3 separate regions of the Homo sapiens genome follow, and regions 1 and 3 are each linked to region 2. Evidence: promoter capture Hi-C in human tissues and cell types (Jung and others, 2019). All regions are on one chromosome and are shown on one strand. The core of a region is centred on a gene start or on the middle of the fragment in contact, and the rest is flanking DNA. Distances in the headings are between cores, read along the strand shown. Region 1 holds the start of TRIM8 (tripartite motif containing 8). Region 2 holds the start of NOLC1 (nucleolar and coiled-body phosphoprotein 1). Region 3 overlaps SUFU (SUFU negative regulator of hedgehog signaling).

The links. The method cuts DNA at HindIII sites, captures the fragments that hold promoters and counts their contacts. A contact is called where the count stands out against the background at its distance.
Region 1: the fragment with the promoter of TRIM8 here is called in contact with the fragment with the promoter of NOLC1 in region 2 in 1 of the 25 tissues and cell types used here (spleen).
Region 3: a fragment that was not itself captured here is called in contact with the fragment with the promoter of NOLC1 in region 2 in 2 of the 25 tissues and cell types used here (dorsolateral prefrontal cortex and lymphoblastoid cells).

The regions. Positions count from the first base shown.
Region 1 is chr10:102,642,108-102,646,166 of GRCh38, reverse strand. It overlaps TRIM8 (tripartite motif containing 8), which reads right to left and starts at 1,688. Exons shown (of 6, transcript NM_030912.3): 1 at 980-1,688. The coding sequence starts at 1,549. It overlaps TRIM8-DT (TRIM8 divergent transcript), which reads left to right and starts at 2,978. Exons shown (of 1, transcript NR_186489.1): 1 at 2,978-3,375. RefSeq lists silencers at 37-253, 1,539-2,518, 2,599-2,698, 2,969-3,028, 3,359-3,988 and enhancers at 429-528, 1,309-1,438, 1,540-2,295, 2,296-3,050. The HindIII fragment of the contact is 20,827 bases long and covers 1-4,059 here.
Region 2 is chr10:102,150,169-102,153,813 of GRCh38, reverse strand. It overlaps NOLC1 (nucleolar and coiled-body phosphoprotein 1), which reads right to left and starts at 1,425. Exons shown (of 13, transcript NM_004741.5): 1 at 1,284-1,425. The coding sequence starts at 1,403. It overlaps PPRC1 (PPARG related coactivator 1), which reads right to left. Exons shown (of 14, transcript NM_015062.5): 14 at 3,481-3,645. RefSeq lists enhancers at 1,315-1,364, 1,535-1,834, 740-1,939. The HindIII fragment of the contact is 9,767 bases long and covers 1-3,645 here.
Region 3 is chr10:102,565,083-102,568,565 of GRCh38, reverse strand. The region is part of intron 3 of SUFU (SUFU negative regulator of hedgehog signaling); the gene reads right to left. Among named protein-coding and RNA genes, the nearest start is that of SUFU, 63 kb to the right of the region's middle. RefSeq lists an enhancer at 2,189-2,888. The HindIII fragment of the contact is 7,279 bases long and covers 1-3,483 here.

The DNA of each region.
Region 1 (4,059 bases), core at 439-2,938, 490 kb before region 2:
GGAAGTATTGCCTCAGTCCAGCTCCAAAACCAGGCCCAGAGGCCTGAGGGGGGAGGCGGTTTGACATTGGCCGCGGCCGCAGGGTGTATACAATGGGAGGGGACGCGGTTCCGTAATCACCCAGCCGGCAGCCCAGGGGAGCCAGCTGCCTGAAACCAGATTTCAAGGCGGCTCAACCTTAAACCCACAGGATTCTTTTTCCGTCTTCCACTTCCCCTCCCCAAATGTGGGAGGGCGGCGAGAGGGCTGTGCTAGGCGAAAGGGCCAGGATGATGAAGACAGATACTTGAAGGCTTGTTCATGCGGCCCGTGCGACACACAGGCACACAGGGCAGCGATTCTCACACAGGGAGAGCCGGCTCTCGGGAGGAATCCAAATAGCGGAGCCGCTGTCGGGGCCTCGCTGGCTGCCCAGGCCCTGTCCAGAGAGACGGCCGGAGTTCTGCTCTCCCTCTGGAAACTCCCCCCACTCCCCCCCCAGTGTGTTTCCAATAGCGCTGAAAACTAACATGGCTGCTTTTGTTTACTTCCTCATTGGTATGCCAGCATCATGGATCATGTCAGCCACAGCAGCGGCACCGGGACACTCATTACATAAACAGCAGCTGGAGAGGCAGGACCGGGGTCACTGCCTCGGTGACTTCCCGTAGGGCCTACAGCAACAAGACTGGGGGAGGGAGCTGCGCACCACAGAAAAGCAACACCCAGACTCTACCCCTGACGGTCCCACACCCCAATCCCATAAAGCACTCAGAAGACGGACCCTGTGCGCACAGGTGCGAGAATGTACCAAGTAGCGACCCGGGGCCCTTCTTCCCAGGACCCTGTCCCCAAACTTTCAGAGAAGAGTTTGGCCAGGGGCCACTGGCCTGATGTCACAAGAGTCAGCCTGTCGGGATGGGTGGTCCCGGGGCGGGAGAGAGGAAGGGACTGTGTGTCTGTGTGTGTGTGTGTGCGCGCGCGCGCGTAGGGTACTTGCCCGGATTTCATTCCTTCGGATCTCCACGTCGCACACCGAGTGTCCCTGATGCGCGCCGCTGTAGTAGCAGCAGTACTGGCACACGGCCACCTGCTCGGCCTCGCAGTGGTAGAGGCGGTAGGCGTTGTGCTGCGGGCAGCTCCAGGCCCGCACGTCGTCCGCCTCCACCAGGAGGTGCCCGCGGGCGGTGGAGGGCTGCTGCAGGTGCGTCTGCACGTGGGACTGGCAGCAGGGCGCCTCGCAGCGCAGGCAGACCTTCTGCGCGGGCAGCGGGGGGCCGCGGCGGCAGAACACGCAGTGCAGCGCCGCCGGCGGCTTCTCCACGTGCAGGGCATTGAACTTCTCCACGATGTTGGTGAGCTTCAGGTTCTTCTCCAGGCCCGGCTTCTGGTTGTAGGCCTGGTTGCACTCTGGGCAGCGTACGAGGCCGCTGTCCTTGGCCCACGCCTCGCCGATGCAGCCCCGGCAGAAGTTGTGTTTGCACGGCAGCTGCACTGGCTCCACGAAAACGTGCAGGCAGATAGGGCAGATGAGCTCCTCCTCGAAGCAGTTCTTCCAATTCTCCGCCATGGCGGCCGCGGGCAGGGGGCCGGGGCAGGCCTCCCCGACTCCCCAGCCCCGGGGGTCCGTCCGGAGCCGCTGTAGGCCCACCGAGCCCCGAGCTCCGGCCCCAGCCGGCCCCGACGGTCGCTCAGTCAGCAGCGCCTTCCGCGTGCCCGCCCCCCGGAGGAGGGAGCCGCGGTCCTCACGCCGCGCGCGCAGCGGGCTGCGTCTCCTCCTCCTCCCGAGCGCCTAGCGGGAGGCGGCGGACTGCGCCAGGGCCGCGGCCGGGACTCCAGCCTTGGAGGGGAGCGCCGGGGTCCAAATTCCATATAAGAGGCCGCCTCCCCGTCGGCGCGGCTAGGGCAGTGGCGGCCCGCGGCCTGCGCTCGTCCCCGCGGCTGACATTGGGGCGCGCCCCGCGGCAGACGGAGCTTGGGAGCAGCACACTTCTTCCGGCGGCGGCGGCAGCGGCGGCTCCTGCCTGGCTCGTCGGCGCCGCACCTCCCTCGCAGGGGCCGGAGCCCGGGGTCTGCGGGGCCAGGAGGCGAGGGCGGCCGCGCCGAGGGCTGCTAGATCCGGACGGGGCGGGAGGGGCAGGCCGGCGGTCCCCGGGCCACGGTGCAGGCGTCCCCCGGCTGGCTGGCCGGGCGCGGGCTGCGGGGCGCGGGCGGGCCGACTCCGGGGCGCTGCGTGCGCGCAGGGGCAGTCATTCAGATGAAATTCCAGTCCCCGGCCAGAGACACCAGCCCGCCTCTGCCTTCCTCCTCCCTTCACAAATAGAAACGGAAGGGGGAGGGAGAGAAGTGGAAAAAAAGGCAACCGGCGAGGGAGGGAGGGAGAAGCCCCGGCGGCGCTCCGGCCTGACCCCCGGGCGGCTACTTCTGCGCTCCCCCGAGGCCCGGCGCCCCCGCCGCGGAGAGACCCCGCGCGCCCGTCTCCGCGCTGGGCGGGCGCCCGGGCTCTGCCGAGGAAAACAAGGATTGATCAAACTAGAAAGGAATTTTTCTCAACTGCTAATGAACAGGAGGCTCGGCTCCCGGCCCTCCCCTCCCCTCCCCCGGCCCTCCCCCTTCGCCCCCCCGGCCCCCTCCTCCCCACTTTCTTTTCTTCTCGGCCTCTGCTGGGGCCTGGAAGGCTCGGGGCTGCGGTCGGAGCCAGCCTGCGGCGGCGGGGCCAGGCCGAGCCGCCACCCTCAGCGCCCAGCCATCTTGGGCTCCGCGGCGGCGGCCGGGGTCTGGGCGCGCTCGCTGAGGGCCCCGCGGCGTCCTCTCGCTCCTGATTCTTTTTTTTTTTTTTTTGGTGGGATTTTTTTTTTTCCAAGGGGAGGGCTGGCGGCCTCCAACAAATTAGGAGAGAGAGAGGGAGAAAATGCCAAGTCCCGATTTCTCTCCACCTCTGCTCCACCCACCCCGGTCCTGTCCAAAAAATAAAAGAAGATGAGAATTGGAAGAAGTCGGCAGAAAGGCGAGAGCCCGCGGTCCCCGGCTGCTGCCCAGGCGACGCGTCCGGGGCGGGCCCGCACCCGTTGCTCGGTCCGAGGTCCGTCTGTCTGCCCGCGGCTTCTCAAGGGAGGGGAGGGCGCTTCGGGCAGGGTCTCCGCAGCCGCTGTCGCCTCAGAGCTTTATCCTCAGATCAAAAAAGAAAAAACAGGAAGAAAAAAATCCCAACCCCAACACTCTCATCACAGCCACCTTCAGCCATCTTGCGCGTATTATTATTTCAGGAATAATCTGTTTAATAAAAATACCTGCGTATCCAGCCCCTCCCCCGCGTCCTGGGGTCCCCGCCCCCTTTTAATAATAATCTCGATAATAAAAACGATCGGCGGGCCGGGCAGTCCGTGGCGGCCCTTTCCTGCCTCGACTTGCTCGGGCCCGGCTCTCCCCCCGCGAAGGGGCGCCCCGGGGTGGGGGTGCGTCCCCGTCACCCGCGCGGGGAGGAAAGGGCGCCCTCGCCGCCGCCGCGAGGAAGGCGGCGGCGGAGATGCCGCGGCCCGCGGGACCAGCCGGAGGGGCACTCGGGGGTCCCGGGGCCCCCGCCACGGCCCGGCCTGGGAGTCCGCAGCCGGCCGTATACAATGGGTTCGGAGCAGAGCGGGGCAGGCAGGGTGGGGAAACGGGAGGGCCAGGGGCTGCAGCGAGCCGAGCTCCCGGGCTGGGGCGGAAGGAGACGGGGGGTGGTGTCCCTACATCAAGGCCGGTCCCGCTACTCGGGAAGGGGGCGGAGAGCTGCGGCGCTGGGGGGCGAGGAGAAAGCGGCAGGCGGCGCCTTTAATCGGCACCCGCCGGTTCGGCCCACCCGGCACTGGCGAAAGAAACGGGCGCGGTGGGGGGGAAGGGGCGGGGCGTGCTTTCCGGAAGTACAGTTACAGGGCCGGGCGCCCGGCTCCTCCCCCTTTCCCTGTCGCGTTGGGGCTGTTCCGGAGGCTGCTCCTGCTATTGGCCCACAAGCTGAGGCTCCACCTCCCTAAGGCGGGGCAGACCCGAGAGTCTCACGTGACTCTCACAAACTTCGGTACATTAAACATTGGGATGGGA
Region 2 (3,645 bases), core at 176-2,675:
GTAATCCCAGCTACTGGGGAGGCTGAGGCAGGATAATCACTTGAACTTGGGAGGCGGAGGTTACAATGAGCCGAGATCGCACCATTGCACTCCAGCCTGGGCAACAGAGACTCCGTCTCAAAAAAAAAAAAAAAAAAAAAAGAATCCTAATTCTGAAATGTCCAATTCCATCCAGTCCACTGTGAAAGCACTCTCCGCAGTCTCCTTAACAGTCAACTCTAAACAGTTTCATTAAGAAAGCAGTTAGATCACATGGCAGCCTGTCCCAGCTTAAGGAAGTTTTGAGGCTGATCTGATTCTTTGCTTTCGCAGCCTGATTCTGCTAAAAGTGCAAGCCATCCTTCCTAGTCATGCTATCATCCCTGCTGAAGACCCCCCCTCTCTCCTCTCTCAAAGTGTCTTCCCATGCAGGAATGTCCGTTGATGTAGATTACAAACCTTTCACATTCCTGGTTCTCTTACTCTTACATGTGTTTGGAGCATCCTAAATTGCCATAACTATGGTACAGCTTTCACTTTTACAAGATTCCTCTGTACCAGCACTGAGATTGCTACTCTTACACATCATCTTACTGAAACTCACAAAAATCCTATAAAGTGGATGATGACATCCCTGTAGAAAGACTCAGAAAGGTTAAATAAACTGCCCGGGTCACGTATCTAAAAAGTGGCAGAGCCTGGTCCCAAACCTAGGTTTGTTTGATTCAATTAGCCAAAGCTCCAAGCCCACTACTATGCCTACTTGGTAGGGCTGTTGATGACTCTCAATTCTCAGTGTAACTCAAAACAAAACTCTGCTTCTACTTTCATTCATTTTCTTCTTTACAAACGAAAATCCCAGACTTCATTCTAAAGAAATTTCACTTGCTTTTGAATCCCAGTAAATGTGACTGAGGCTAAGGTCAAATCACGGTTTGCCTCACCCAACGAAAAGCCCCCCAGAAGATGCCGAAGAACCAACGTCCTCAGTGGAACAAGACTCTACCTCCCCGCTGCACTCTGCCAGCCATGTGGCTTGGGGCCACGAGGCTCCCACGCTGCCGCCGCTGCACAGGTCACAAGAAAAAAGCAACAAGACTCAGCGATATCTACTCAGACATGGAGGAAGGTAAGCGACCGAGGCCGCAGGCTTTCTCTGGTCACTGCCGAGGGGTCGGCGTAAAGGCCTTGCAGACACTGGACTGGCGGACCCCCAGACTTCCCCACCTGGAAACCTAAGCACGTCAGGGCCTGAAGCCTTGTGGTCATCTCAGCCCGGTCCCCGCCCCAAGCCCGGAACTCACAGCTCCTGTCGCTTTGGCGAACTTATTGGCCACCTCTGAGAGTTGGTTATCGCGCAGGAAGCCGAGCACGAGGGGATACAGGTCGCTGGGAACCACGCGGCGAATGCCGGCGTCCGCCATCCTCCAGGCAATACGCGTCACTACCGTTGTCGACGCAGCACGACTCAGGAACCCAACAGGGGCAGTGGGCGGGCCTGTGTTACGTCATTGCGCCGCGCGGGCGCATAACGGAAAGGGTGGGCTCCACAGGGCAGTCCCACCTTCACCTCAGAGGTAGGGTAGACGGGAAATCTATAAACTCTTTCCGGTCCCACGCGTATCGCCATCTTGGTTAAGGGCGGAGCCCACCGGCCGCCAGCTTGTGGAGGCGGAGCTCTGACGTCAGGGATCACGCCCTCGGCGTGGCGGGAAAACTCGGGACTTCCCGCGCAGTCTTTCTGGGGGAGGTACCTTTTCTCAGAGCAGCGGTTTCCCGCGCCCCTGCTGGGACTCGGATTCCAGAGTAATGAGTGGACAAGCGGGCTCGAACAGTTGTTCTACAAGATCTCCCAACCGCCCCCATGGCGTACTGGCACGGCCAATGGATTCTCGCCCTTCATCTTCACTGCCTCCAATACCCAGGGAGGCCCTTTCTGATACCATCCCAGCCTCCAGACTCCTGCCTCTGCTGCAGAAGATCCTTCGGGTTATCCGTCGTGAGGGTGGGAGGTGTTGATTTCCCAAGCTGCCCCTCCCATCTCCCTTATATTCCGCCTTAGGTCAGCTCCATGAAGAGGAAAGGTGTCATGCACCAAACCTGAATCACACACAGCAACAATCTATTCAAGCTGAAGAGATTGTTGAAAATAACCCTTCTTCCTCCGGGATCAGAGTTCACACTCTGCCTTTGTCATGAGTAACTCCAGTATCAATGCCTTTGTCATGAGTAACTCCAGTATCAATGCTCAGACCTACCAAGTTAATTCCAAGTTCTGCCACATTCCAGATATTAGCAGTTAGCAATCCCTTCAATCCTACCCACTACCCCTTGGCTACCTCCCACTAATGCCGCTCAGGAAAGATAAGGATCCTCATGGGAACACACCCCCCTCTCCTATATAAAATTGGCCAGGCATAGTGGCTCACAACTGTTATCTCAACACTTTGGAAGGCCTAGGTGGGAGGATCCCTTGAGCCCAGGAGTTAAGAGGCCAGCCTGGACAACACAGTGAAACCCCCCTATCTCTACAAAAAATTTTTAAAATTAGCCAGGTGTAGTGGCATGCACCTGTGGTCCCAGCTACTTGGGAGGCTGGGGCAGGAGGATCAACTGAGCCAGGGAGGTCAAAGCTGCAATGAGCTATGATCCTGCCACTGCAATCCAGCCTGGGCCACAGAGTGAGATCCTATCTCAAAAATCAAAAACAAAGCTGGGCACGGTGGTTCATGCCTGTAATCTCAGCACTTTGGGAGGCTAAGGTGGGTGGATCACCTGAGGTCAGGAGTTCAAGAACAGCCCTGGCCAACATGGTGAAACCCTGTCTCTACTAAAAATACAAAAAAAATTAGCCAGGCATGGTGGCGGGTGCCTGTAATCCCAGCTACTCAGGAAGCTGAGGCAGGAGAATCACTTGAACCCGGGAGGCAGAGGTTGCAGTAAGCCAAAATCGTGCCACTGCACTCCAGCCTGGGAGACAGAACAAGACTCCATCTCCAAAACAAAACAAAAAAATTCAAAAACAGAAACAAAAAACTCCACAGTTCCCTCTTCCCCACGCTTCCTGTTCTACCCACATGCATGCATTATTTAAAACATTTGAGCACCTGCTGTGCCATGCAGTGTGCTCAAGCTATTATAAAATGATGAACATAACTGACATGATGAATGTATACACCTGTCGCAGTTTAGAAAACCTTTCTTTGGAACAAGTGTGAGCTTCTCTAGGTCCTTGTTATCAAAATCCCTTCCTGGACCAGTATCATCATCCCATTGTCAGAATCTACATTCTAAAAAGATCGCTAGATGATTCAAATTCCCTTTAAAGTTGAGAAGCACTGTCCTAAATGACTCATTTTAGACAATACATCTGAGGAACCAAGGTTCAAATCCAGTGGGATTTTTGCACCTGACCAGGGAGAGGCATGTCCCTGGACCATGTTCAGATAGGAAAAGTGAATACATTTGGCATTAGCACCATATAAAGACGCACAACAGCAGTTGGGAGTTCTCTCTAGTTGATGTTTATTAGTCTGCATAGTGACTTATGTTCCAAACACTGGGGATCCCCTCAGCCCCTCCTATCTTACATAGGAATGCAAGTTAACTTGTTTCAATACCTGTTATAAAAAAACAAATACCCCTTTTAAAAAATCTGATTCAACA
Region 3 (3,483 bases), core at 701-3,200, 410 kb before region 2:
CTTCCATGACATGATGCTGTGTGAATAAAGCATGTTAATATATACAGTACTTAGTACAACTGCCTATTTTTTGTATAGAGACATATCTAGAAGGATAGTAACCAAATAAAAATGGCTGTCTCAGCAGCATAATATTTATTTTTGTTTTCAACATATATTTATTTAAGTTACAAAGTAACATAGGCTTATTATAAGAGAGTCAAACAACAAAGAAATGTATAAAGTAAAACATGAAAATCTCTTTTCCCATCAGTCCCATTTCTCAGCTATTAACATTTGCTGTTAACATCTGATATGCAGTCTTTAAGACTTTCTTTTCAGCATGTATAATCAAAGTCATACTTTTTTTTTTTTTTAAGTAAAAATGAAACTCCACTCTACCCATTGTTCTGCGACAAGGTTTCTTTATGTTTTCAGTGTTGCCTGGATTTTTTTAATGTCCTTTTTGTAATTAGGGAAAACAATAATGTTATATTTGTTTGGGGGAATAAAAGTGTACCAGCCAAGGACAGAAGACAATGAATGTGTGATGTGAGTGGCCCAGTAAAGAGAAGCAAAGGACAAGGTTTTCCTGTGTTCAGATCACCACGGTACTCAATACAGGAGGACCTAGACATGCCCGGTTGGCCCAGGAGGTTGATAGTGTCCTGTTCTTCCTAAATCTTCAAAGCCAAACATAGGCTGCTGGAGCTAGGCCTGGGGCTAGGGGATATTGGGCTATAGCCTCTCCCAGAGATGTGTTCCCTGCCCAGCACAGTGCCCCAGGTATGCAGCTTCCACTGGGCCAAGCAGGACAAGGCAGAGAAGGACCCCCACTGCTGTTTCAGAGTCTACCTGCTGCATGCCAGCAAAACAACAATCCACTGCCTGGGTGTGCTGCAATCCCTCTTTAAAAGCACCCGAATTCCCTCCCTTTTCTCTTCCTCCCCTGGCTCAAGCTCCAACTGTCATCTGTCCAGAGAGAGGGCTCTGTGAGGAGTCAGAAATGCTGCTTGAACCTCATCAGAACCCTCGAGGGAGGGCCATTCTGTTCTCTTGGTCCTTGAGTCCTGGGAAGAACCTAAACAACAAGCTTGTCCTCATGTCTGCCCTGCAAGGCAAGAAGACAGGCCTGGCGGTGGAGACCCACTCCCAGGGAATCTCAAGCAGTACTGTGTATGGCTTACGGGTGCCAGTCATTTTCCACTGAGAGAGCTATGAAGAAACTGAGTAAGAAAGCCACTGCCCTGGCCTTTTTTTTTCTTGACAGGTTTTGGATGGGGCGCAGTGGCTCACGCCTGTAATCCCAGCACTTTGGGAGGCCGAGGCAGGCGGATCACGAGGTCAGGAGATCGAGACCCTCCTGGCTAACACAGTGAAACCCCGTCTCTAATAAAAATACAAAAAATTAGCAGGGCATGGTGGTGGGCACCTGTAATTCCAGCTACTAGGGAGGCTGAGGCAGGAGAATGGCATGAACCCGGGAGGCAGAGGTTGCAGTGAGCCGAGATTGTGTCACTGCACTCCAGCCTGAGCAACACAGCGAGACTCTGTCTCAAAAAAAAAAAAAAAAAAAAAAAGAGCCTGTTTCCTTTTCTTTTGCAATGTGCTTCTTAAACAACAACATAAACTTTTTTTTTTTTTGAGATGGAGTCGCTCTGTCACCCAGGCTGGAGTGCAGTGGCACAATCTCGGCTCACTGCAACCTCCGCCTTCCGGGTTCAAGTGATTCTCCTGCCTCAGCCTCCTGAGTAGCTGGGACTATACAGGTGCCCACCACCATGCCCGGCTAATTTCTGTACTTTTTTTTTTTTTTTTTTTTGAGACAGAGTCTCACATTATTGCCTGGGCTGGAGTGCAATGGCATAATCTCGGCTCACTGCAACCTCCGCCTCCCAAGTTCAGGCGATTCTCCTGCCTCAGCCTCCCAAGTAGCTGGGATTACAGGCGCCCGCCACCACGCCTGGTTTATTTTTTGTATTTTTTAGTAGAGACGGGGTTTCACTATGTTGGCCAGGCTGGTCTAGAACTCCTGACCCTGTGAGCCGCCCCCTTGGCCTCCCAAAGTGCTGGGATTATAGGCGTGAGCTACCGCGCCTGACCTAATTTTTGTACTTTTAATAGAGACGTGGTTTCACCATGTTGGCCCCGCTGGTCTCGAATTCCTGACCTCAGGTGATCCACCCATCTCAGCCTCCCAAAGTAATGGGGTTACAGGCGTGAGACACTGCACCCAGCCATAAATAATATTGATTGTTTCTATGTATAATGCTAGGGTCTGCATTAGGAACACTACCTATATTATGAAGTAGATATTACTATTACCTGTGTTTCACAGATGAAGTAACCAACTGTTAGAGATGTTCAATTTTGGTCCTACATGGCCCAACTAGGATTTGAACCCAGGCAACCTGCCATTTGGATTCCTGCTCTCAGCCATGTTCTTTTCCAGCCCTCTTCGCTGAACACTCTATCATGAGCAGTTTCCAGTCATCAAAGTGCTTTACCTCCTGCAGAGATGCTAGTTCTACTGTCCTAACTCTCCAGCGGCAATCTCTGCTTGCCAGTGGGCTTCACTGCCCTCTGCAGAAAGCATCCCTGAATTGCAAGTGCTAGAGACAAAAGGGCCACATTCCGCTGAAAGAGCCAACCAATTAAAACTCCACAGGGGTCCAGAGATGAGAGACCTTGTCCGAGGGTGAATTATCCTAGCTGAATGCCTGTATCAAATAAATGCTTTCGGCCAGGCGTGGTGGCTCACGCTTGTAATCCCAGCACTTTGGGAGGCCGAGGCGGGTAGATCACGAGGTCAGGAGATAGAGACCATCCTGGCTAACAAGGTGAAACCCCATCTCTACTAAAAATACAAAAAAAATTAGCCGTGCGTGGTGGCGGGCACCTGTAGTCCCAGCTACTCGGGAGGCTAAGGCAGGAGAATGCCGTGAACCTGGAAGGCGGAGCTTGCAGTGAGCCGAGATCGCGCCACTGCACTCCAGCCTGGGCGACAGAGCGAGACTCCGTCTCAAAAACAATAAATAGACTCTTTCTACTAAGAGTTTCAAGTCATTTAATGTAGTTCTCCAATGTAGGATACAGACCTATAGAAGCTAAAGGAACTTGCTAAAGAAAATCCTTCAGCAACACAGCAGGAGATGCATACCCCCCAACCCCAACAAACTCTAGGTACTGTAATTGATTCCTCTACCACAGGCCACAGAGCACAGGACCCAGCTAAGGCAACTCATTTCTCGGGACCTCTGAAATCTCACAGAGATGGCTACCTCTCCACCTGAGTTGTTATTCAGAAGTGGAAAACATTCTCTAAGTCAGTTGTCGGCCGACTTTTGCAGTGAACGGCCAGAGATAAAATATTTCAGGCTTTGAGGGCCATATCATTCTTGTTACAACTAGTCAACTCCACTGCTGTGGCACAAAAGAAGCCCAGGTAATCCATGATGGGTATGGCTATGTTCCAATATAATTTTACTTATAAAAACAGGTGAT